Regions from separate parts of the Homo sapiens genome. Here regions 1, 2, 3, 5, 6 and 7 are each linked to region 4. The links are contacts of gene promoters, found by promoter capture Hi-C in blood cells and fetal thymus (Javierre and others, 2016). All regions are on one chromosome and are shown on one strand. Each heading gives the region's core, a stretch centred on a gene start or on the middle of the fragment in contact. The rest is flanking DNA. Distances are from core to core; before and after follow the strand shown. Region 1 has its middle 68 kb from the start of CD8B2. Region 2 overlaps NCK2 (NCK adaptor protein 2). Region 3 overlaps NCK2 (NCK adaptor protein 2). Region 4 holds the start of UXS1 (UDP-glucuronate decarboxylase 1). Region 5 overlaps NCK2 (NCK adaptor protein 2). Region 6 has its middle 100 kb from the start of CD8B2. Region 7 overlaps NCK2 (NCK adaptor protein 2).

What was found. The method cuts DNA at HindIII sites, captures the fragments that hold promoters and counts their contacts. A CHiCAGO score of 5 or more calls a contact.
Region 1: a contact is called between a fragment that was not itself captured here and the fragment with the promoter of UXS1 in region 4, in 4 of 17 cell types (monocytes, M2 macrophages, M1 macrophages and 1 more). The highest score is 12.6, in monocytes.
Region 2: a fragment that was not itself captured here is called in contact with the fragment with the promoter of UXS1 in region 4 in 1 of 17 cell types (neutrophils); the score reaches 6.7 in neutrophils.
Region 3: a contact is called between a fragment that was not itself captured here and the fragment with the promoter of UXS1 in region 4, in 4 of 17 cell types (naive CD8 T cells, neutrophils, total CD4 T cells and 1 more). The highest score is 7.7, in naive CD8 T cells.
Region 5: a fragment that was not itself captured here is called in contact with the fragment with the promoter of UXS1 in region 4 in 4 of 17 cell types (total CD4 T cells, naive CD4 T cells, naive CD8 T cells and 1 more); the score reaches 7.0 in total CD4 T cells.
Region 6: a contact is called between a fragment that was not itself captured here and the fragment with the promoter of UXS1 in region 4, in 1 of 17 cell types (monocytes). The highest score is 5.3, in monocytes.
Region 7: a fragment that was not itself captured here is called in contact with the fragment with the promoter of UXS1 in region 4 in 10 of 17 cell types (neutrophils, naive CD8 T cells, naive CD4 T cells and 7 more); the score reaches 11.6 in neutrophils.

The regions. Positions count from the first base shown.
Region 1 is chr2:106,553,746-106,556,764 of GRCh38, reverse strand. No RefSeq gene overlaps it. Among named protein-coding and RNA genes, the nearest start is that of CD8B2, 68 kb to the right of the region's middle. The HindIII fragment of the contact is 2,674 bases long and covers 402-3,019 here.
Region 2 is chr2:105,843,437-105,846,219 of GRCh38, reverse strand. All of the region lies in intron 2 of NCK2 (NCK adaptor protein 2), which reads right to left. Among named protein-coding and RNA genes, the nearest start is that of NCK2, 100 kb to the right of the region's middle. The HindIII fragment of the contact is 6,296 bases long and covers 1-2,783 here.
Region 3 is chr2:105,812,496-105,815,245 of GRCh38, reverse strand. All of the region lies in intron 1 of NCK2 (NCK adaptor protein 2), which reads right to left. Among named protein-coding and RNA genes, the nearest start is that of NCK2, 69 kb to the right of the region's middle. RefSeq lists enhancers at 2,244-2,744, 2,745-2,750. The HindIII fragment of the contact is 5,530 bases long and covers 1-2,750 here.
Region 4 is chr2:106,192,896-106,195,851 of GRCh38, reverse strand. UXS1 (UDP-glucuronate decarboxylase 1) reads left to right here and starts at 1,551. Exons shown (of 15, transcript NM_001253875.2): 1 at 1,551-1,704. The coding sequence starts at 1,611. RefSeq lists a silencer at 1,469-2,078 and an enhancer at 2,409-2,458. The HindIII fragment of the contact is 11,333 bases long and covers 663-2,956 here.
Region 5 is chr2:105,789,361-105,792,283 of GRCh38, reverse strand. The region is part of intron 1 of NCK2 (NCK adaptor protein 2); the gene reads right to left. Among named protein-coding and RNA genes, the nearest start is that of NCK2, 46 kb to the right of the region's middle. RefSeq lists enhancers at 1,791-1,840, 1,921-1,970, 2,211-2,260. The HindIII fragment of the contact is 5,853 bases long and covers 1-2,923 here.
Region 6 is chr2:106,588,986-106,591,873 of GRCh38, reverse strand. No RefSeq gene overlaps it. Among named protein-coding and RNA genes, the nearest start is that of CD8B2, 100 kb to the right of the region's middle. RefSeq lists a silencer at 1,691-1,911. The HindIII fragment of the contact is 1,528 bases long and covers 718-2,245 here.
Region 7 is chr2:105,759,105-105,762,008 of GRCh38, reverse strand. All of the region lies in intron 1 of NCK2 (NCK adaptor protein 2), which reads right to left. Among named protein-coding and RNA genes, the nearest start is that of NCK2, 16 kb to the right of the region's middle. RefSeq lists an enhancer at 878-957. The HindIII fragment of the contact is 3,292 bases long and covers 1-2,904 here.

The DNA.
Region 1 (3,019 bases), core at 489-2,988, 360 kb before region 4:
CATGGTTTGAGCTAAGGATGAGATTCTCAGGATGCAACATGAATCATACAAAATAAACCATGCATTATCTCATGTAGAGCTCCTACACTATACTACAACATTTATAAATGTTATAATACTACACATTTTATAAACTATGATACCACATTTGTTAATCTTGTAAGTGTTGGTGTGTGTGTGTGTGTGTGTGTTCGTGTAGAGATGATAGAGCTACAGATAGAGTTAGAGATATGGATACAGATACACACATAGGGACAAGAGTTAAAGGATATACACCAAAATGTTTATATTGGTTATTTAATAGGGATGGAAAACTTTATATTTTTAAAAATTTTATTTTTCTGTGTTTTTCAAATGTTCCTTATTACATTCAATTTAATTCAGCAAAAATTTTTTAAGCTTTAATTATATGCCTATCACATAGTAACATATAAACAAGTATTACTCTTTAATGCAATAGAATTGTATTTCTATTTTACATCTAATTGTATGGTGGAAACACAGAAAACAATACAAGCTAGCAAAAATGAATGGATTCTCTCTTATGCAATTGGTAGCATTCGTTTACAATGCTCATCTTAATGTCTTATTCATAAGTTATGATATGATATAAATGGCTAATAATAGCAAAAGCAAGTAAATAAAATTCTACTTCTGTGTTGTCTGTTGGGAAAAAAAATTACTCTTAAAGCAGTCTTTCTGAAAAATTTCCCTAAGTCTGTGTTTCCAAATTCAGTGTCAGCAAAGGTATTTAACTCTTAGAGTGGGCAAAAAGGAGCTCATCCAGAAATAAAATTTTGATCATCCCAAATGGAGGGAGACAGAAGAGAAAAAGAATGCGAGTTAATGGATGAAGGGCAAAGCACTGCGTCTGAAATATGAGAGGTGTGGGAACACAGCATGTGGAAGCCATATCTCCATTTGTGTGTCCATCGTGTGGCACCGAGCTCTCAGGGCATCTGCATGCCTGTTCTCCAAATGAGTTCCTTCAGACCTAAGGGGAAGAAGTCCCATCTCATCAAACACACATTCACTGCTCATTATCTGCAGCAGATTACGATAGTGACCCAGATTCCAAAAACGTACTTTTTTCCGTGTTGCTCCCAGAAGTTCTTCCTAACCTGTCTCCTTGGTCTATTTTGCAAGTCAGAGTTGGAGGGCATAGAGAGGGATGCAAGGTGGGGAGTGAGAAAGCAGGCGAAAGGATAGAGGTAGGGAAGAGCCAAGGATGTGTCCTAAGGGACAGCATCTGAACCAGCAGAGGCACTCTCCTGCAGCATGTGTGAGCCTTGTCCAAGAACACCTGCAAAGCCAAGACTACCTGTTTAGAGGGCTCCAAAGTGAAAACCTGTCCACCACCTCCAGAAACCCAGCCATGGCCTGTTACAGTGGGAATTTGCCTGGCTAGCAATAAAGAGGCAATTCAGGCCTGCTAGGAGAAACAAGTGTTCCCACTCCATGTCTTCTTACAGGCAGACACACCCCAGAGAGCACTGGTTAGAAGGCTTGGTCCCTCTCCTAGCTGAGCCATGGGCTCCAGGCCAGACTCTGGCTCTTGCTCTGTTATAGAGTAAACCTCTTTGCTTCAGTTTCTCCATCTGTAAAACGAGGACATCTGACTAACCAACTACTTTCAAGATACCTTCTGGTTCTGGAGGTCTATGATTCTATAAGCACCACCAAACACATGCATGCTTCAAAGTCTTTATCATCAAATTAATGAAAACAGCTCCAAGTTCGACTGCAACTCATGCTAGTGATATGACTACTGCTTAGTCTCTCTGAGCTTCAGGTGCCTCATCTATAAAATGGGAACACTAATATCCACACTTGCAGAGTTTTGTGAAAATCAAATCAAGTAAGATTTAAATATCTAGTACAGCACCTGCTACATAGTAGGAATCCACACCTTCCCTTTGTAGTATAGTAATGTGCCACGTAACAATGAACTGCATATAGGACCATGGTCAAATAAGATTATAATGTCATATTTTTACTGTACCTTTTCTAGGCTTAGTTAGGTTTAAATACACAAATTCTTACCATTGTGTTATAATTGCCTATAGTACTCAGTACGGTCACATGCTGTAAACGTTTGTGCCTCGGAGCAATAGGACAGAGTACAGCCTGTACAGCTGAGGTGTGTAGTAGACAATACCATCTAGGTCTTTGTAAGTTCACTCTGTGATGTCCACAGAATGACAAAATTGCATTTCTGAGAATGTATCCACGTCATTAGTCAGTGCATGACTGTAAATGATTCCAGTGGTGATCGTTTACTGTCACACCAGGGTTCCTCAGCACTATTGACACTGGGGGCTGGAGAGCCCTCCGTTGTAGGGCTGTCTTGTGCCCTGTAGGATGTTCAGCAATTTCCCTGGTCTCTGCTCATTAAATGTCAGTAGGACACTCTCCCCGCATACAGTTGTGAACACTGAAAATATCTCCAGCCATTTTCCCCAGAAGGACAAAATTGCCCCCTTTGAGAACCACTGACTTATGCAGATCCCAATTGCACAAAAGAATGGGGGAAAGACACCTTGCATAAGATCATTCCTGCAGTGAGAGCCAGAGCTCAGGTGAGAACCCATCTCTTCAGAGCTCTGGTCCAGGTGTGACTGCCACTACCTCTTGGGATTTCTGGCCTCAGAGGGCAAGAAAGCAAGGGAAGGAAGAATGGAGCTAATACATTGTGCATCTTCTGTGTTCCAGAAACCATTATGGATGCCAGTTGAATAATCGTACCAACCAACTGGCAACCCAAATTCTTACCTTAAAGCAGGGGTATCCAATCTTTTGGCTTCCTTTGGCCACACTGGAAGAAGAAGAATTGTCTTGGGCCGCACGTAAAATACACTAACACTAATGATAGCTGATGAGCTTAAAAATGTCGCAAAAAACTCTCGTAATGCTTTAAGAAAAATTACGAGTTTGTGTTGGGCTGCATTCAAAGCCATCCTGGGCCAAACGGTCACGGGTTGGACAAATTTGCCTTAAGGGTATACTGAATTGATAATGG
Region 2 (2,783 bases), core at 279-2,778, 350 kb after region 4:
GGGAAATGCTATTTTACACATAATTTACCACTCCAGCTACAAAAGTACACAATTTTGTAACCTTCCTTGGCTTTCTCGTTGGTGTCTTAGACACTAATCACACTGGGAGGAAGGCTGTGACTGTCAAGTGATTCCCTGGTGCCAGCATTTTGGAAAATCAACATAAATTTAATAAGCCAATTTTCTTACATGATGTTAACTGTAAACAAATGAAATTCCATATAACTGCACTGGAATCAACACTGCCTTCTGCCAAGCCAGAAGACAGCATGGTGAAGGGGTGAAGAGGAAATACCAACAATGGGAAAATACCCACGTATGAAAATGGACATAGATGTCTTTGGTGGAACTTGGCTTCTTAGGAAACACAAGTGAGGTCTTTTCAGGTAGTGCATACTCCCTGCTCCCAAAGTAGACGGATAACAGTCACCATTTTTAGCGGTTTATCAGGCCTTCCTATTTTTTTTTCACAGCTGTAAGGTACTTGTAAATTTTGTAACTTAAACATCTACTTCAAAAAAACCTCGGCTGGGCGTGGTGGCTCACATCTGTAATCCTGGCACTTTGGGAGGCTGAGGTGGGTGGATCATCTGAGGTCAGGAGTTCGAGACCAGCCTGGCCAACATTTGAAACCTCACCTCTACTAAAAATACAAAAAATTAGCCGGGCATGCTGGTACATGCCTGTAATTTCAGCTACTCAGGAGGCTGAGGCAGGAGAATCACTTGAGCTCAAGAGGCGGAGGATGCAGTGAGTAAAGATCAGTCACTGCACTCCAACCTGGGTGACAGAGTAAGATTCATCTCAAAAAAAAAAAAAAAATTCAAAATATAAATGTCATGAGTTTCCTCAGTTCTTACAAATGAATTCAGCTACATTAATCAATATCTGACCTTTTTCCTTGCCACCTTGTTACTCACGATTCCCTGCCTGATTTTGAAACATGCAAGGTTGAAACAAGAAGCACAGTGATTTTTAAAAACAGATTCCACACTACCCAGGTCTCATAATGTTAAAATATTATTAGGCTACTAAAATCATTTTAGTTCTGCAGATTTATATGGTTTATGCCCACATTCCTAAGCATGGTATCTATGCTTTAGATTTTCCTATTGAAGTGGGAGAGTGGATTATAGAAAGCCCCTCTGCACCCCGCTCTAGGGACAAGAACCTGTACCTACCTGCCAGCAGGGACCCTGTGTAGGAGAGGGGACATGGGTTACTTTGGGTTTAATTACTATAGACACCTCTATAAATGAGTTTGGAACAATAAATGCTAATATTTATTCCAAATGTAGAATTCTGTTAAAGAAACCATCCCTATCATTTAAGAAAACAGAATGAGGAAATAAAGGTTTCTAGCATCTGTGCTTGATATTTCAAAATATATATATCTATTTTTATGTATATATATTTATATATTCTTTTATATACATATATACATACATACATATATATATATATATATATATCCCCCCCCGCCCCAAGACAGAGTCTTACTCTGTTGCTCAGGCTGGAGTGCAGTGGCGCGATCTCAGCTCACTGCAACCTCCTCCTCCTGGGTTCGAGCAATTCTGCCTCACCCTCCCGAGTAGCTGCAATTACAGGTAAGAGCCTCCATGCCCAGCTGTTTTTTTTTTTTTTTGTTTTTTTCTACTTTTAGTAGAGATGGGGGTTTCATCATGTTGGCCAGGCTGGTCTCCAACTCGACTTCATAATCCGCCCGCCTCAGCCTCCCAAAGTGCTGAGATTACAGGCGTGAGCCACCATGCCTGGCCCAAAAATATTTTTTAGACTAAAATAGGTTCCTTTATTATTAACATATTACATTAGTATGATAAGCATGTTACAATTAATGAACCACTACCCATACATTAACTAAAGTTCATGGTTTATTCAGATGTCCTTAGCTTTCCCTTAATGTCCTTTTCTTGTCCCAAGATCCCACCCAGGATCCCACACTACATTTAGTTGTCACGTCTGCTTAGGCGCCTCTTGACTGTGGCAGTTCTCAGACTTCCCTTTTTTTTGAAGAGCATTGGTCAGGTATTTAAAGAATGTCCCCCCACCCGTTAGGATTTGTCTGATGTCATGAGAAAAACATCAGACAAATCCTAAGTGGGGGACCTTCTGCAAAATACCTGATCAGTGCTCCAGTATTAGCTTTTGGGAGGAAGACCACAGAGGCAACATGCTATTCTCATCTTACCATATCAAAGGTCAACATGGCTTAGGACTGCAGACTGCTGATGTTGACCTTGATCACCTGGCTGAGGCGGTGTTTGTCAGGATTCTCCACTGAAGTTACACTTGCCCCCTTCCATGCTATGCTCTTTGGAAGGAAGTCTCCAGGAACAGCCCACGCTTAAGGGTGGGGAGTTAACTCTTCCATCTCCTTGAGGGCAAAGCATCTACATGAATTATCTGGAAACCTTTTGCACAGGAGATTTCTCTTCCCCTACTAATTAACGTATTCCATCATTTATATCACTGTGATCTTACGGCTATTTTATACTCTGGGCTACCATCCAATATTGCTTTTTCTTGAATTGTTCCAGCTTTGTGTATGGGAGCGTTTTCAGCTGGCTACTGTGTCCCTGTGACGTATCACCATCACTGCGAGTGTTCGTTCGTTTGTTTCTTTGAGCACATCCTTACTTTCTGGCACCACAAGATGCTCTGGGCTTTTCTTGCATATTTTCTACCCCAGTCCCAGAATCAGTATATCTGCCTTGATTGTAACCAGCAGTACCTGTAGTCCACTTTTTACACATGAATCCTTT
Region 3 (2,750 bases), core at 22-2,521, 380 kb after region 4:
TTTAAAGGCCGCATCATTTTAATACAGATATAATTTAAGGCAAGGAAAAGGTGATGGCCAAACACAGTGGGAATACATCTTTGGGCAAGAAGTTCAAACGTATACTAGGCAGATTGCCCTTCTCTCTGTTAAGTGTTTATAATAAAATGACAGGTCCTCTCGAGATGGAAGTATTGGAATCTGAACTCAGTTCTTGACCAAGAGTTCTTGTTTCTCATGCTGACACCACTGAACATCAGCAAAGGGCAATGTGCTGGGTACCATGCCCCAAACACCACCTCTGTATGTGTCATTTTCAGGGGCTATTATAAACGTTAAGTTGTGTTGTTAAGATTTTAACTGGGAAGTGAATTTGCCCAGAGTCTGCCTTCCACAGGCAAATGCAAGGAATTGTTTTATGCAGTTGTTTGGGCTGTCCAAATACAGGCCTCCCCCCTGTGTGCCCTGTGTCTCATGAGTAATATGATTTAATCCTTCTGATACACTGCCAGGATGGATTCTAATGCCCAAATGTACAGAGGAGTTCACTTTCTCAGTGACACTAAAGGTTTTTCCCAACCGACTGGAGAGTGAGGAATCACTTAGGCCTTGGACTCCGGATGAGTGGGCTTTGCACATCTCTAATCTCTTCTGCATGCGAACAGAGGAGAGACTCCTTATGCCAACAGCAAACCAAAAGCCTGAGCAGCTTCTCTACCAGACCCCGCAAAAGAACAATGAGCTGGATTTAGAACTTGAGTCCTTTGATACTAGGCACAGTGGGCAAGTCAGAACACGGCCTCTCCAAGCACAATCAGTAAAGGAAAAGCCAGACAGAACGGAGCAGGACTTGAACTAATGCAGCAGCTCCAACAAAAGTGAGGCTACTGAAAATCCATTGAAAGGTGCCAGTGGCCATCTGGGATTCAAGTGTAAAACGTGAAGGTTGCATGCGATGTTTTCCTTGAGAAAAGCATTCCACTGACAAACTGTCAATGTGTTAAGTGTACACCCTAAGTAGAATAAAACATGGTGGTCAACATCTCTCTCTCTGGGTTTAAATGAAGACTGCCCAAGTTTAACATGGGGCTCTTAGCTTATTCAAAACCTGTGTTAAGGAAGAGCATTTCAAAGCAGGTCTTAATTATAATCAGTGATCGAAATCCATCAGGAAAGTATACACTTTTGTGCAAAAAACAGTATCAGCCTGAAAGATAAACACCTATACGGTCACTTGGACTGTAGAAGGCCCTCACCAAAGGATTCAAGGATTTTCTACAGCCAGCTTCAGGACAGGAATATACAGAAGGAGTGTGTGCTTTTCTCTAAAAGTACTTCACTAGCACTACGTGCATCTCCCTTTAGAAATAAAGGAGGGAGGGCTGGAAGGCAATTAACACTGATACCGTACGTATCTCTTCATTTTAATGTGGATCCTTAATACTACAAAATTTTACCACTGCAAAATCCAAGGGATTATCTGAATTCTCTGTAACCTTAAAATTTGCTTTTTTTCCACTAAAGCCACAACCCAGGGTTTTCCAGTGTTTTCAGCAGCACTTAGCTGCAGTGTTGGGCGAGTGTGCTGAGCACTGCCAGGCCACACTACTTGTCCCAGGCGCAGGGCCAGGCAGTGAGATGCCCCCCTGCAAGCAGTCGTGGCCGATTCTGCATCCCCAATGCCTGTGTGGTGCTGGCGCAGTGTCTTCTGCTGCACCTGGGCTGGTTTCCTCCAACTATCAGCATCTGAGAGGGAAGTCCAGTGATGAGGTCCCTGACTAAGGCAACTCCAGAGGAGCAGTTCAGGGTTAAGAAGGGAGTTATGAGCCTTGTTCTGATGACAGCCCAAGGCTGTGAGCTTTGTGGACATAATACCACTGGGTGCTGTCACTCAACCTGTTTTTGAGGTGGCCTATTTGTCCAGAAAACTGAAGTCACCAAGAGACTAAAGTCAGCCTTCAGGAGGCTCAGGGAATCCCTCCTCTCCCACTGTCCAAATGATAGAAACGGTGACAGGCTGGGAGAAGAACATGTTCTGATTCCAGTGAGACACTCGCCGTGGCTTCACCTTAGCATCAGCTGCAAGAATCGTCACAGCAACCCTGGGAGATACATCTTATCATTCAGCCCAGGAACCAAATGACCAGATGTCTCACAACCAGAATTTGAATGCACACTTGTCTGATTTTAAAGCCAGAGTGCTCCTTCTCCTGACAAAGATCACCACGAAAGGGCTAGAACCTTGACAGTCGCATTCTGCAAATCGCATCTGCTGATGCCATCTGTCTGGGGTATCTGCCACCCTGGGTGGCCGGCTCCAACCTCTCAAATCAGCTAGGAACCATGTCAGGCTACATCAAGAAGCAAGCCCATGAATGTACACACACCAAGTTTGTTTTCAACGTTACTGCTTCTCTTAGATGTTAGCACAGGAGGGAAAAAAAAAAAAAAGCCTTGTTGAATAGTGTCACCTGGCTTCAGTAATGAGCAGATGTTGGACTCGGGTGTGTATCATAACCAAATCTAATCTGTGTTACACATGGAGAGAACCACTCCAGATCCCTAGTCTGTAGCCAGAGCTAAGGCAATTGTCCTTTTCCTTTTATTTAAAAAGAAAAACAAAAAAGCATGGATTAGCATAGGCCTCAGAGCTCTCAAATGCCTTGTCTTACCCTTCCCTCCTCCCTCCCTGACCAAGGAGGCCCAGCAGAGGCCTGCAAGTGGATCTCCCGTTCAGAGTACGGAGGCGGCAGTGCCAGCCCAACACAGCA
Region 4 (2,956 bases), core at 302-2,801:
GCTCCACTTGCTCTAGTTCTCTTTTCAAAAACCATAGCCAGAAAGCCACGAGGAAATGCAGACTTACAAACAAAATCGATTTGTTCCAAACTGGTGTGCTCTGGGGGCCTGGCCCCTCTGGGAACCCAGGACTCAGGCTCCCATGCCAGGTGTTTTGTCACTTGGCAGCCTCCTTGGACACGTCAGAGTCAGGGAGCTGGGCTTCTCGAAAGAAGTCCACTCCATCTATGGGCAGCATGCATAGCAGGGGCAATCCGCCTTAGCAAACCGCTCAGTGTTTCCTCCTAGTCAGGGATTCTCAACAGGTTTAGGGGAGGGGTAGGATGGAGGTAGGTTTTATCAGAATCACATCATTTGCACTATAGTTTGAAAGATGTAACATAAAGCTGCTGCTTTAGTACCAGCTGCCATATTTCCTTTTCTTGGAGGTTTCTAATAAATCTAAAGGAGGGTGATCTATTAAGTTTTGCAAAATGGCCTGAGGTTCCAAGAGGTAGGAGAGCCGCTGCTGACTTCAACTTCTCCGTATAGCTGAAGATGACCTCTTGAAGCCTGCAGATCCCAAATCCGGGATCTCTCTTAATGTGGCATCACACACATCTGTGTGTACCTGTCTTTTTTTCCTCCATGGGACCAGCTCTCTCCAGATCCAATGACAAGCTTCCGATTATCTGTGGATCTTCTGATACATCTCCTTGCTTGTAATCATCATTCAGTAAATGCTTTTTAAACACAGGTACCTCCTATGCAATCAGTACAGCACTCATAAAACAGATATACTCAACAAAAAGATTGAATGAAACACACACGACAACATGGTCAGGGTTTTTCTCTAGGCAGAGACAGCGCAATTTCATCTTTTCTTTTCCAAGTCTATCCTAAATTAATATACTTAGCACTGCTTTTTAAAATAATAATAAAAGACTATTATTAAAACAAAGGCACCCCAGTTGATCATAGCCAAGGAAAAAAAACGCAGCCAGTTTTTACTTCGGCAAGGTTTAGGGGATTTATCATTTTCGCTGCCGATATTCTAACTAAAAAAAGCCAACTAAACAGCCCAGAGAACGAGGCAACTTTCTGAGGCAGGCATTCAACTTCTAAGGCTCGGCCAAGTTTAGCAAATAAGTTTCGTTTCACTGCAACACCGGAATGCCCACCGCGTGCCCCCCTCCGGGCGGGGCTCGGAAACTGGCCACTGCAGTCGTGCCCTTGGGTTGGGGACGCACCTCAGCGAAACGAATCCAGCCGCACCTCCCGGCTGGCACCCGCGCGCTTTAACTCAGGGAAAACAGACCGGAACGCGCATGCGCCGCGGCGCGCCGCACCGCCCACCAGCCCTCCAGGTCACATTCTTCGAAAACCAAGGCAAGAAAGGCGGCAACTGCGCCTGCGGGTAGAGAAGCCGGAGGGGCGGGGGCGGAGCCGGAGGAAGGGGGTGGAGGCGCGCCTGCGCGGTGATCCCGCCAGCAGGAAGCAGGCGCGCGGGGGCGGGGGCGCGCGGCGGCAGGAGGCGGGGCTCTCGGGGCCGCTGCCGCCGCCGCCGCCGCGCATTGTGCAGCAGGCGGGCCCCCGCGCGGTAGGGCCCTGGACCCGCGCGGCTCCCGGGGATGGTGAGCAAGGCGCTGCTGCGCCTCGTGTCTGCCGTCAACCGCAGGAGGATGAAGCTGCTGCTGGGCATCGCCTTGCTGGCCTACGTCGCCTGTGAGTGCGCGCCCGCTGCCAGCTGGGGAGCCCCATTCATTCCCCGGCGCCGCGGTGGGCCGGGCGGCGGTGGTTCGGGGCCCCGAGGCGGCCCTGCAGCCCCGCGTTGCTCCCCGCCCCGGGCGGGGCCGGCGCTTTCTGCTCCCACCCCTTTCCACTCTTGCAGCAAAGCGGGCCAACTTGGGCGCACACCCCCTACCGCTTAGGCCCGGGCGCGGACCCCGGGCGGAGGGGCCCCTAGCAGTCCTCGGGCGGCCCCAGGTCTCTGCCTCCTGCCCGGGCGCGGGGGACTCGGCGGCGGCGCTGTCGTCCATGTCGCGCTGGGAGCCGGCGAGGGTCCCGGTCGGGGACTCCGGAGCGTGCCGCGTGGGGATACCCTTGGGGACAGCCGAGGTCGCGCCGCGGTGTCGGTTAAGTCGGATAAAAATACTGTGGCCATTGGCAGAGCCCCCGCTCCGACTGTTTGCTCCTCAGGAAAATTACTCAGCGTTTAACTCTTGGGGAGCCAAGTGTGGGCGGCTCCCCGGCCCGCGGCCGTGCCCAGGTGTCGGGGCGCACCGGCATCCCCATTCTAGGTTTTCCCCCGGGGCTCGGCGGCCGGGCGAAGCAGGCAGGCAGCTGGGTGGCCGGGCAGGGCGTGCCTGCAGCTTCTCTGTGCGCGGGTCCAGTTTCTGTCATCGCTCACAGCATGCTGCCTGGAGACAGGGCAGGAGGGGCACTTCGCAGGCAGGTGGTCGGCCCTCTGCTTGTTAGGGAAGTCAGAAACCGTCCTTTTAAAGATCTATTCGTTGGGAATGTTTTAATTGATGCTATTAATACGTTACCAAGTAGCAAAATTGGACTAGAAATAGCTCCCAGTGTGAGCTGCGTTTGAATGCTAGCCACCCAGACACACACTGAAATGAAATCACCTGCTAACCTGTTGGCGTTACCAAGATCTGATTCCAGAGGTGAGTGGGTACTTCACTTGTCTGAAGTGACTTCAGTTGAGCTCTAGGAAGGCAAGTATGAGTAGATCCAGCCTGTGTGCTACAGCCCAGCTGTTCAGGAGGTGGAGCTGGAAAACCCCAGCAGGACTCCGGGTTGCTAGGGGAGGTTTCAGGCGTCGGATGGGTGTTAGATGTGTGTAGTTTTGCAAGGGAGGAAGAACTAGTCTAAAGTGTGTGTGTGGTCAATCTTGAGTAAGAAAGCTGAGACCCAAGAGGAAAGACCATTTAAAGTTGAATAACTATTATTATGGCAGTAATACTAC
Region 5 (2,923 bases), core at 20-2,519, 400 kb after region 4:
TTGATAACTAAGAAATCACATCTTACAAAGAATGTCAAGATCATCATAAAATGTGATAGCTGAAAGGGCCATCAGAAACCCCCAAGCAGCAAACCATCTTCTACATATGAAGGTGCGCAAAGCACCTCCCTGCCTAGGGCATGGAGCGGGTCAGTGGTGAGGCTGAGCAGGAGGGGTCTCCAAAATCTCATCCATCTCTCCGGTCACCAAGGCAGGACTGGGGAAGCGTTCCCACGGCTCTGTGCAGAGCCCACAACACAATCAACAGCTTGCTTTTCAGAATCAACCGCTAACCCATTAAGGCTCTTCTTTTTGTTTCTGATTATGCTTAAAAAACACACACTCAAAACATCGAAAAAACATTTTTGGTAGCTTGACCTCTGCTCCTCCCAAAAAGAAAAATCAGTTCACTCGATAAAATCTTGGTAAGTTATTCGGGTGTTAAATATACAACAGATATGAAAATATTGAGTGGCCTATCAAAACACAACCACCACGAGCAGCTGCGTCATTTTTACATGGATCAAATTATAGACAAAACTCACAAGCTCTACGAAGAATGTATACCACTGATTTGCCTGAATTGTCAAGTAGAAAAACGAAACCCTGTATCAAGCACTTCAAGAGGTCACTATGATCAGATCTATTATGGAGTCAGTTCGAAATGCTCTTTGCTCTAGAGAAGTTTAAATGAACACAAGAGTGCTCTAAAAACATACAATAAACTACACTGTAATACACGGAACAAATAAGGACATCCCAAAGACAGTGAGCGAAGAGTAATCTGCAGCAGCACTCTGGCCGGTAAGCACGGCAACGGGGCGAGGGTGCACTCCCTACATTGTTGTTAGGCACTTTACACCGTATATCCTCCCATCGTGAAAGCCACCGAGCCTTCCACCACACCTGGTCACTCTTCTTCTGGAGTGAAGAGAAAAACGTGAAGGCACAGAGGTTACGTGGGAGAGGTAAAAAATGACCAGTTTCTTATCAGTGTGGCTGTAATTTACATCACTGCCTCAGGTTTCTCTAGATGAATCAACATTCTCTTAAGAATTACTAGAATTTAAATCCTGGAAGGAAGGATTAGAGATCTTCCGCTGTCACCTCTTCATTTAACAAATGAGAAAATGAGGGTGCAGAGTGGCTGAGCCCAGGGCCGCAGGGGCTTCCAAGTGGCTCCCACATACAGTACCTACCCTCTCAGCTGTGTTGCTCATGGGCATTTCCAGAGCCCCAAAGTTTCCTGAGTGGGAGCGGACAACCTCTAAGCAGTGCCTTCCAACTCTTGCAGGTTCTAACACGAGGAGCACTCCCCTAGCAGTGTGCATCTGTGATATAAAGGGGAGGGGTTGGACTCTGGCTGGCTCCTCACCAAGCCCTGCAGATGAGGACTCTCCTCCCTTGCCTCGGGCTGACCTGCCACACCCTTCCTTCTTCGGGCACAGCTCAAAGGCCGTTCCCTCCACCCAAGTCTTGCCTATGTGCATCAGCTGGCAGCGAGAGACCCACCTGGACAGCAGCCTTAAAGAAACAGGTACAGTCTCCTGAAGACAAGCTCCACCCATGTACACTTCTCCCCTAGGGGTGCCCAGAACAGAGGAAGGAGGCACTAAGGGCCTGGCCTGATGCCTTCACCTAAGATGAGGACAGGTGCGGGGGATGCAGTAAGATGTCACATCAAGTGATGACACTCCAGGCAGCAACACCTGGCACACTTCTCAAAGGGCCTAGGAAACCAGGGCTCCAGAGGTGGCTCCTCTCAGTGGGTGAGGTAACAAGAAATGGGGCAGGCGGGGGTGGCCGGGCTCCCAGGCTGCCTGCAGAGGGGTCTCCTCACAGGCACAGACTCTCCTGCTGCCCAGGCATAGAGTGCTACCCATCCTAGAAGTCAGGCTACTTGCCAGCCTATGGCATTGAGAAGCCCAGGGCTCAGCAACTGTTCCCACTCTGAGTCAGCAGGGCAAGATCTGCTAAAAATAGATGGTGGGCAATGACGAGAGCTGCAGGAAGCCAAGAAACGAGTCTGTCATTTTAATCCAATCAACAGATCCTAATGACATGCACACTATTTCTAACGGTTTACTTTTATGTCTAAATGTTCAGGTCTATTTGTGGGCTTTGATGAAGAAGAAACGGCTGCCCGTATTTTTAGCTCACAAATCAACTTTTAATTCTTCTCGTTCTACAAATAGGAAGTAACATTCCACAAAGTAGAAGCAATAAAAATTAAGATGTTTTGAAGACAAGCCAATTCTGCTCCCTTGCACTCAATACATGAACACGCTAGTGTTGGACTCTGATTACCCTGCCCCCTCCAGGCAGTGATGGCAAAACACAACATCCATTCGTGAACATTTAGTTGGCGACCACTCATATCCAACCTGTTCGTTATCTGATGGTGAGGTGTGCCCTGGCCAGCACCAGCATCACCTGGGGACTTTTTAAAAATGCAAATTACTGGGGCCCACCCCAGACCACTGAGGCAGAAACTGGGGGTGTGTGGGGCAGCAGTCTGTGTCAGAAAAAGCCCTCCCGTTAACCGGGAGCAAGCCTAAGTTGGGGTTTGAGAATCACAAGCCGGGGAGCAAGGTCCTCACCAGCAGATGATGATGGACAATAAGTGCTTTACAGCTGGTTCCGAAGGCAGGTTTTATTGCTCCTATAAGGATTTTATGTAGCAAGAGGATCATTTTCATCAGAAAGACTCAGGGAAACATCTCTTCAACTAGAAAGAACTCTCTTATGTGTAACAAAAGAAGGCTAATGTTTTTCTCATTGAAAAAAGGTTGTGAGGCCAGGCAAGGTGGCTCATGCCTGTAAGCCCAGCACCTTGGGAGGCCGAGGCGGGTGGATCACTTGAGGCCAGGAGTTGGGAGACCAGCCTGGCCAACATGGCGAAACCCCATCTCTACTAAAAATA
Region 6 (2,888 bases), core at 232-2,731, 400 kb before region 4:
ATAAGCAATCTCATATTCTATAATACTCATGGTGGCTCTGCTTCCCTGATTGGACCCTATGCAGTGGGTCTTGACTATCTTTTTTTTTTTTTTTTTTTTTTTTTTTAAAGACAGAGTCTCTCTGTCAACCAGGCTGGAGTGCAGTGGTGCAATCTCAGCTCACTGCAACCTCTGTCTCCCAGCTTCAAGCAATTCTCGTGCCTCAGCGTCCTGAGTAGCTGGGACTACAGGCACACGACCCCATACCAGGCTAGTTTTTGTATTTTTAGTAGGATGGGTTTTTGCCATGTTGGCCAGGCTGGTCTCAAACTGCTGACCTCAAGTGATCTCCCCGCCTCAGCCTCCCAAAGTACTGGGATTACAGGCATGACCCACCATGCCTGGCTTGACCATCATTTATTAAATGGAAGGAGATGGAATAGGATAGCATAGGTTAGTGATATGGTTTGGATATTTGCCCCCTCCAAATCTCATGTTGAAATGTGATCTGATCCCCGATGTTGGAAGTGAAGCCTGGTGGAAGGTGTTTGTCATGGGGACGGCTTCCTCATGAATGGCTTGGTGCCCTCCCTACGGTAATGAGTGAGTTCTCACTCTATTAGTTTACATGGGAGCTGGTTTTTGTAGAAGCCCAGTACCACCTCCTCTTTCTTTTGCTTCCTCTCTCACCATATGACACACTTGTTCCTGTTTAACCTTCTGCCATGAGAAAAAGCTTCCTGAGGCCTCCCCAAAACCCAAGTAGATGCTGGCACCATGCTTCTTGTACAGTCTGCAGAGCCAAATAAACCTCTTTTCTTTATAAATTACCCAGTTTCATATATTCCTTTATAGCAATGCAAAATGGACTGATAGTTAAGATAGGACAGGATTGGACAGGAGAAAATAGGATAATGTCAATGCATCATGGAGAGTAAAGGTAACTTATTTATAAAGATTTTGCTTCAAATTTTTAGATAATCTAGGTCACCTTGGGTTTAATCCCAAAGATATCAACCCTCATTCCAGCCTGTATAAACGATGCCCTCCAGAGCTGTGCAGTGTGTAGCCTGTGTGTTTATTCAAATGACATCAGTCCTGATACAAAAAGTATTTCTATATGTAGGGGTGTCTTTGTTTTAGACCGCTATAGAATAAAACTACAGACTGGGTAATTTAGAATGAACAGAAACTCATGTTTGTGGAGTCTGGGAAGTCCAAGAGCATGTGCTGGCATCTGACAAGAGCATGTGCTGCATCACCCGGTGGCAGAGGTGTGAGGATGAGAAAGAGAAAGAAGAGGGCCAAACCTCATCCCTTTATCAGGAACCCACTCCAGGAATAATGGCATTAATCCACTCACAAGGGCCCTGCCTCCTTTTAGGGTAAAGAAATTTAGGAGCATAAAACCTGTATTCAAAGATACCTTCTGATCTGTAACTAGGTACACCACTACATAACCCAGTTTTTGACTGGACATCACATCTTAGTCCTCTGAACCTAAACTCACATTGAGGAGAAAGACAGCTGTGTCCATATACAGCCAAATAGAATTCATGGTTAGGCAAATACAAAGAAAAGCCCTCTTCTCAAATGGAATGTGGTTCCACAAGCATCAGGGCAAAAGGATCTCCAAGTTGGAGGCAGATACATAAGCAAGATGCTTTAAGGACAAGTCCTAGGGAAGAAGACATAAAGACAACAGAGGAATGGGCACTAACAAGGTTCAGAGGATGCAAGACTTTGTGAGATTGCAGGAGCAGGCAAAGATTTGACAAGTGAGGCACATAGCTGAGGATATGCTAGTTCCCCTGACTGCCCATAAGCCTCAGGATTCTGAGGGACACGGTGCCCAAGAATGACATCATTTTATTATTAAAAAATATCAGCTCTTCCAAAGTCACTTCTGCTCTTCCATCTTTTGCCTAGTCTCTGCTCTGCAGGCAGATATGTCCTGTTAAAAATTTAGCCAGATCAGCTGGGCATTGATGGTACACTGTTGTCTCGCCTACTCAGGAGGCTGAAGCAGGAGGATGACTTGAGCCCAGGAGTTAGAGGCTGCAGTGTGCTATCATCGTGGAAAAAAAAAAAAAAGCCAGATGATGCCACTCCTCTTTGAAGCCTCCGTGTGTCTCACCAACAGTCTCTGAAATCCTGTGAGACCTGGCTTCCACCTATTTCTCTGACCCATTTCCTACAACACATCTCCTATGCACACACTCTGACCAGCCCCACTGACCTCCTGCTCCTTCCAGAATGGGAAGCTTTCTATCTCAAGGCTTTTGCACTTGCTTTACCCTCTGCCTGGCATGCTGTCCCCCCAGAAACCTGTATGGCTCTCTCCTTCCCCACCTCCGGGTTTTTACCAATTTACATCTTCTCCATGAGGCCTTCCATGATCCCTTATTTAAAATTGCAGCCCCACGCCCACAATCTTCTTCCTTCTTCCTCACTTCTGCATCTTCCAGGGGCCATAACACATCTCGCTTAGCATATTTTACTTATTTGTTAATTCTCTGTCAATCTTTACTGGAATATAAATGCCAGTGAAAACAGGGGTTCATCTGCTTTGTTCAAGGCTATAGTCTCAAGGCTAAAGGGGCCTAGAGGAAAATCCACACTCAATACATACATGTTGAATGAACTCGATTTCCCAGCTGGTTTTGCCGACATAGGGGAATGGTGCTGTACACATATGTACTTGTACATGTACATACATGTTGGTATTCAGCCAGCTTAGTGAATTTTATTATTAGTCATAATACTGAATTAATTCTCACGGTTTTTTTTAATATAGATGTTTACACAATAATATCAAAACATTCCTTCCTAGAAGCAATGAATCCCAGACCGACCTAGCTGTTTTGTAAACGGTAGTAATATTCAAGACTAATAGGGAGGTAGAAAAA
Region 7 (2,904 bases), core at 244-2,743, 430 kb after region 4:
AAAGGACAAGATATTTTTAAAATGTATCAAAAATCCGCAGGACAAAAGAGAAAACATAAACTGTAACACAGAGGCAGAGATTGAAAAGAAAATAATGTTCAAAAGGGTCAGCGCACATGTCTGTATTCAGTCTTTTTTGGTCTCACTGTCATATAGGCTGGAGTACAGGGGCCTGATCACGGCTCACTGCAGCCTGGACCTCCCAGGCTCAAGTGATCCTCCTGCCTCAGTCTCCTAAGTAGCTGGGACTACAGGCACTTGCCACCATACCCAGCTCATTTTTTTGTATTTCTTGTAGAGACAGGGTTTCGCCATGTTGCCCAGGCTGGTCTTGAACTCCTGGGCTCAAGCAATCCTCCCACCTGAGCCTCCCAAAGTGCTGGGATTACAGGCATGAGCCACTATGAGCCACTCTGCCTGGCCCAGTCATTTTTTAATAAACAAAATGCATTATTATAAATTATATCTATGTGAATGAATACAACAGAGTCTCTCTCATCTGTGTATAATGGTTTGGGAAGGGTGGAGCAGGAAGTAGTGTCCCCCCACCTGGCCTTCCACCCAAGCCTGGAATCGTCCCATCACTAGGAGGGAGAAGGCAGTGACCAGAAAGAGAAACAGGCTAATGGCCTTAATTCTGACTTTTTCTGTACCCAAGAGAAAGGTGAGCCACTCTTCTCCCTCCCAAAAAAAGATTCTCTGGAAGTCAGTCAGCCAGGAGTTAAAATGACCACTTCAAGACCCTCCCCACGCCAGCTTCTGAGCCAACGCCTGCCCCGTCCATACCACCGCTCCCATACACACCCAAACCTCCCAGCACCCGGGTAGGGCACAACCCTGCTGCCCAGAAGAGGCCCAGTAGGGTGGGCGGGCAGGCACACCAGCATGGCCTCACAGCAGACTCTGGCCCCCATCTATGAGAGGAGAATGCCTTCCTCAGACACTGGGTCGGGACCACTTCCTGAGCCCAGTCACAGACCAGGGCTTCCTCAGGCGGAAGCAGGATGAGGGCCACCCAGATCCCAATCCCAAAGAAACTTCTTCAGGCCACTGCCCTCCCACTTCAACCAGGGAATGTGCCCAAGAGCTAGGGGTGTCCCAAAGCGCAAGGCATGACACATGTAGAAACTATGAAGATTTTTCGGTGATTTTTTATTTGCTCAAACCTGAACACAGTCCACGTGGGGTCTCGGTGTCTCTGCCTCTCTCTCTCTCTCACATGTGACAAAACCATTTTCAGAGAAGCCTGGCATCTAGGGACCTCCCTACTCTGGCCCTGACTGGCCTTTCCACAATAGGGTTCTCAGCTGTAACTGGTTTCTCCCTTCACTGGAACTCTGGGCCCACCAAAAGAAGGATGAAGTTATCCAGAAAGCAAAGACCCTTGGTTGATACAAAGGGAGCCTCAGATGGAGAGATCCAAGAGGTGGTCAAAACTGTGGGAGAAGTGGTTACACGGGGAGCCTTAGAGCTAGGTGCCACCAGCAGGGAAGAGGTGTGAACGGCAAGGATGGAGGTGAGGGCCTGACTCCTGGCCGGCACACCTGGGGTTCAAGTGCTAATCCACAGCAGAGGCTCTCAACTTTGAATATGCATCAGAATCACCTGGGGAACTCGTGCAACAGGAAGAATTCCAGACCAACCTATCCCACGCGGGAAGTCAGGCAGTTCCCCGGAATTTGCATTTCTCCACAGCCCAGGACCACATTCTGGAAACCCCATGCTGGGGCACCATCCTATCCTATCACCTCCTCCGCAACAGTGCCAAGGGGCTGTCTGTGCCACAGTGCCTTCTATCCCCACTGAAAATCTTGGTCCCTTTTGGGAGAATAGATAAATCTGTCAGATAGAATTCTAAATAACTAATGTAAATACAACCCCTACAGGAGGTACAGCTGAACTCCCTCTTCCTTAAATGACCTCCTTCCAAAGACTGCAGCAGTATGGAAAGAAGGGAAAAGAGTCACTTGACAGTGGAGTCACTTGACAGTGGAGTCCCCTGACAAACACTACCTGGGCCAGGTGATCAAGATCAACATCAACCATCATAAGCCACGCTGATCACATGGACCCTTGATACAAAATGGCACATTACCTCGGTGGCCTTCCTCCCCAAACCGGTAACTCTACACTAATCATGAAAAAACATCTGACAACTCTCAACTGAGGGACAGTCTACAAAACACCTGAAAAGCAGTTTTGCTCCTCAAAGCTGTCAAGCCATTAAAAACAAGGCGAGTCTAAGAAACTGTCCCAGATCAGAGGCGCTACGGAGACTAAAGGAAACGTGCCCTGGATGGGATCCTGGGACAGAAAAAGGATGTCAGGGCAAATAAACTATGGACTTAACAATAATGTACCAATACTGGTTCATTAGATGTAACCAATGTACTATAGTAACGTAAGATGTGAATCACAGGGGAAAGTAGACACAGTTTATATCAGAATTCTCTGTATTATCTTTGAAACTTTTTCTGTAAATTTAAAATCTATTCTAAAATTAAGCGCTTACTTAAAAATATATACCATATGTTTTATTATATAAAAGCCTGTATGCATAGGGTAACATGGTTGACTTTCAACAATAACAAATTACACTTTGGAAACGTTAAAACACTGTGCTCAACAAAAGGAAATAAATACCCCTATTGATCAGCTTAATACACGAACGTGAGGGTATTACATGGCTGAAATGCAATACAATTTTCTGCTTTCCCCAGAGAACGTACTATGTGTACTTGAATACGTAAAACGATATACTGCATGTGTTTATAAACAAACAAAAAATCTTGCTCCCTTGAATAAGACCAAATAAGGACTTAACACGTGAAATTCTCTCCTTCTGAAGGCCCAAGAACCAGGAATCTAGGTATTCGATCAACCTTTAAAATTTTATCAAACTCA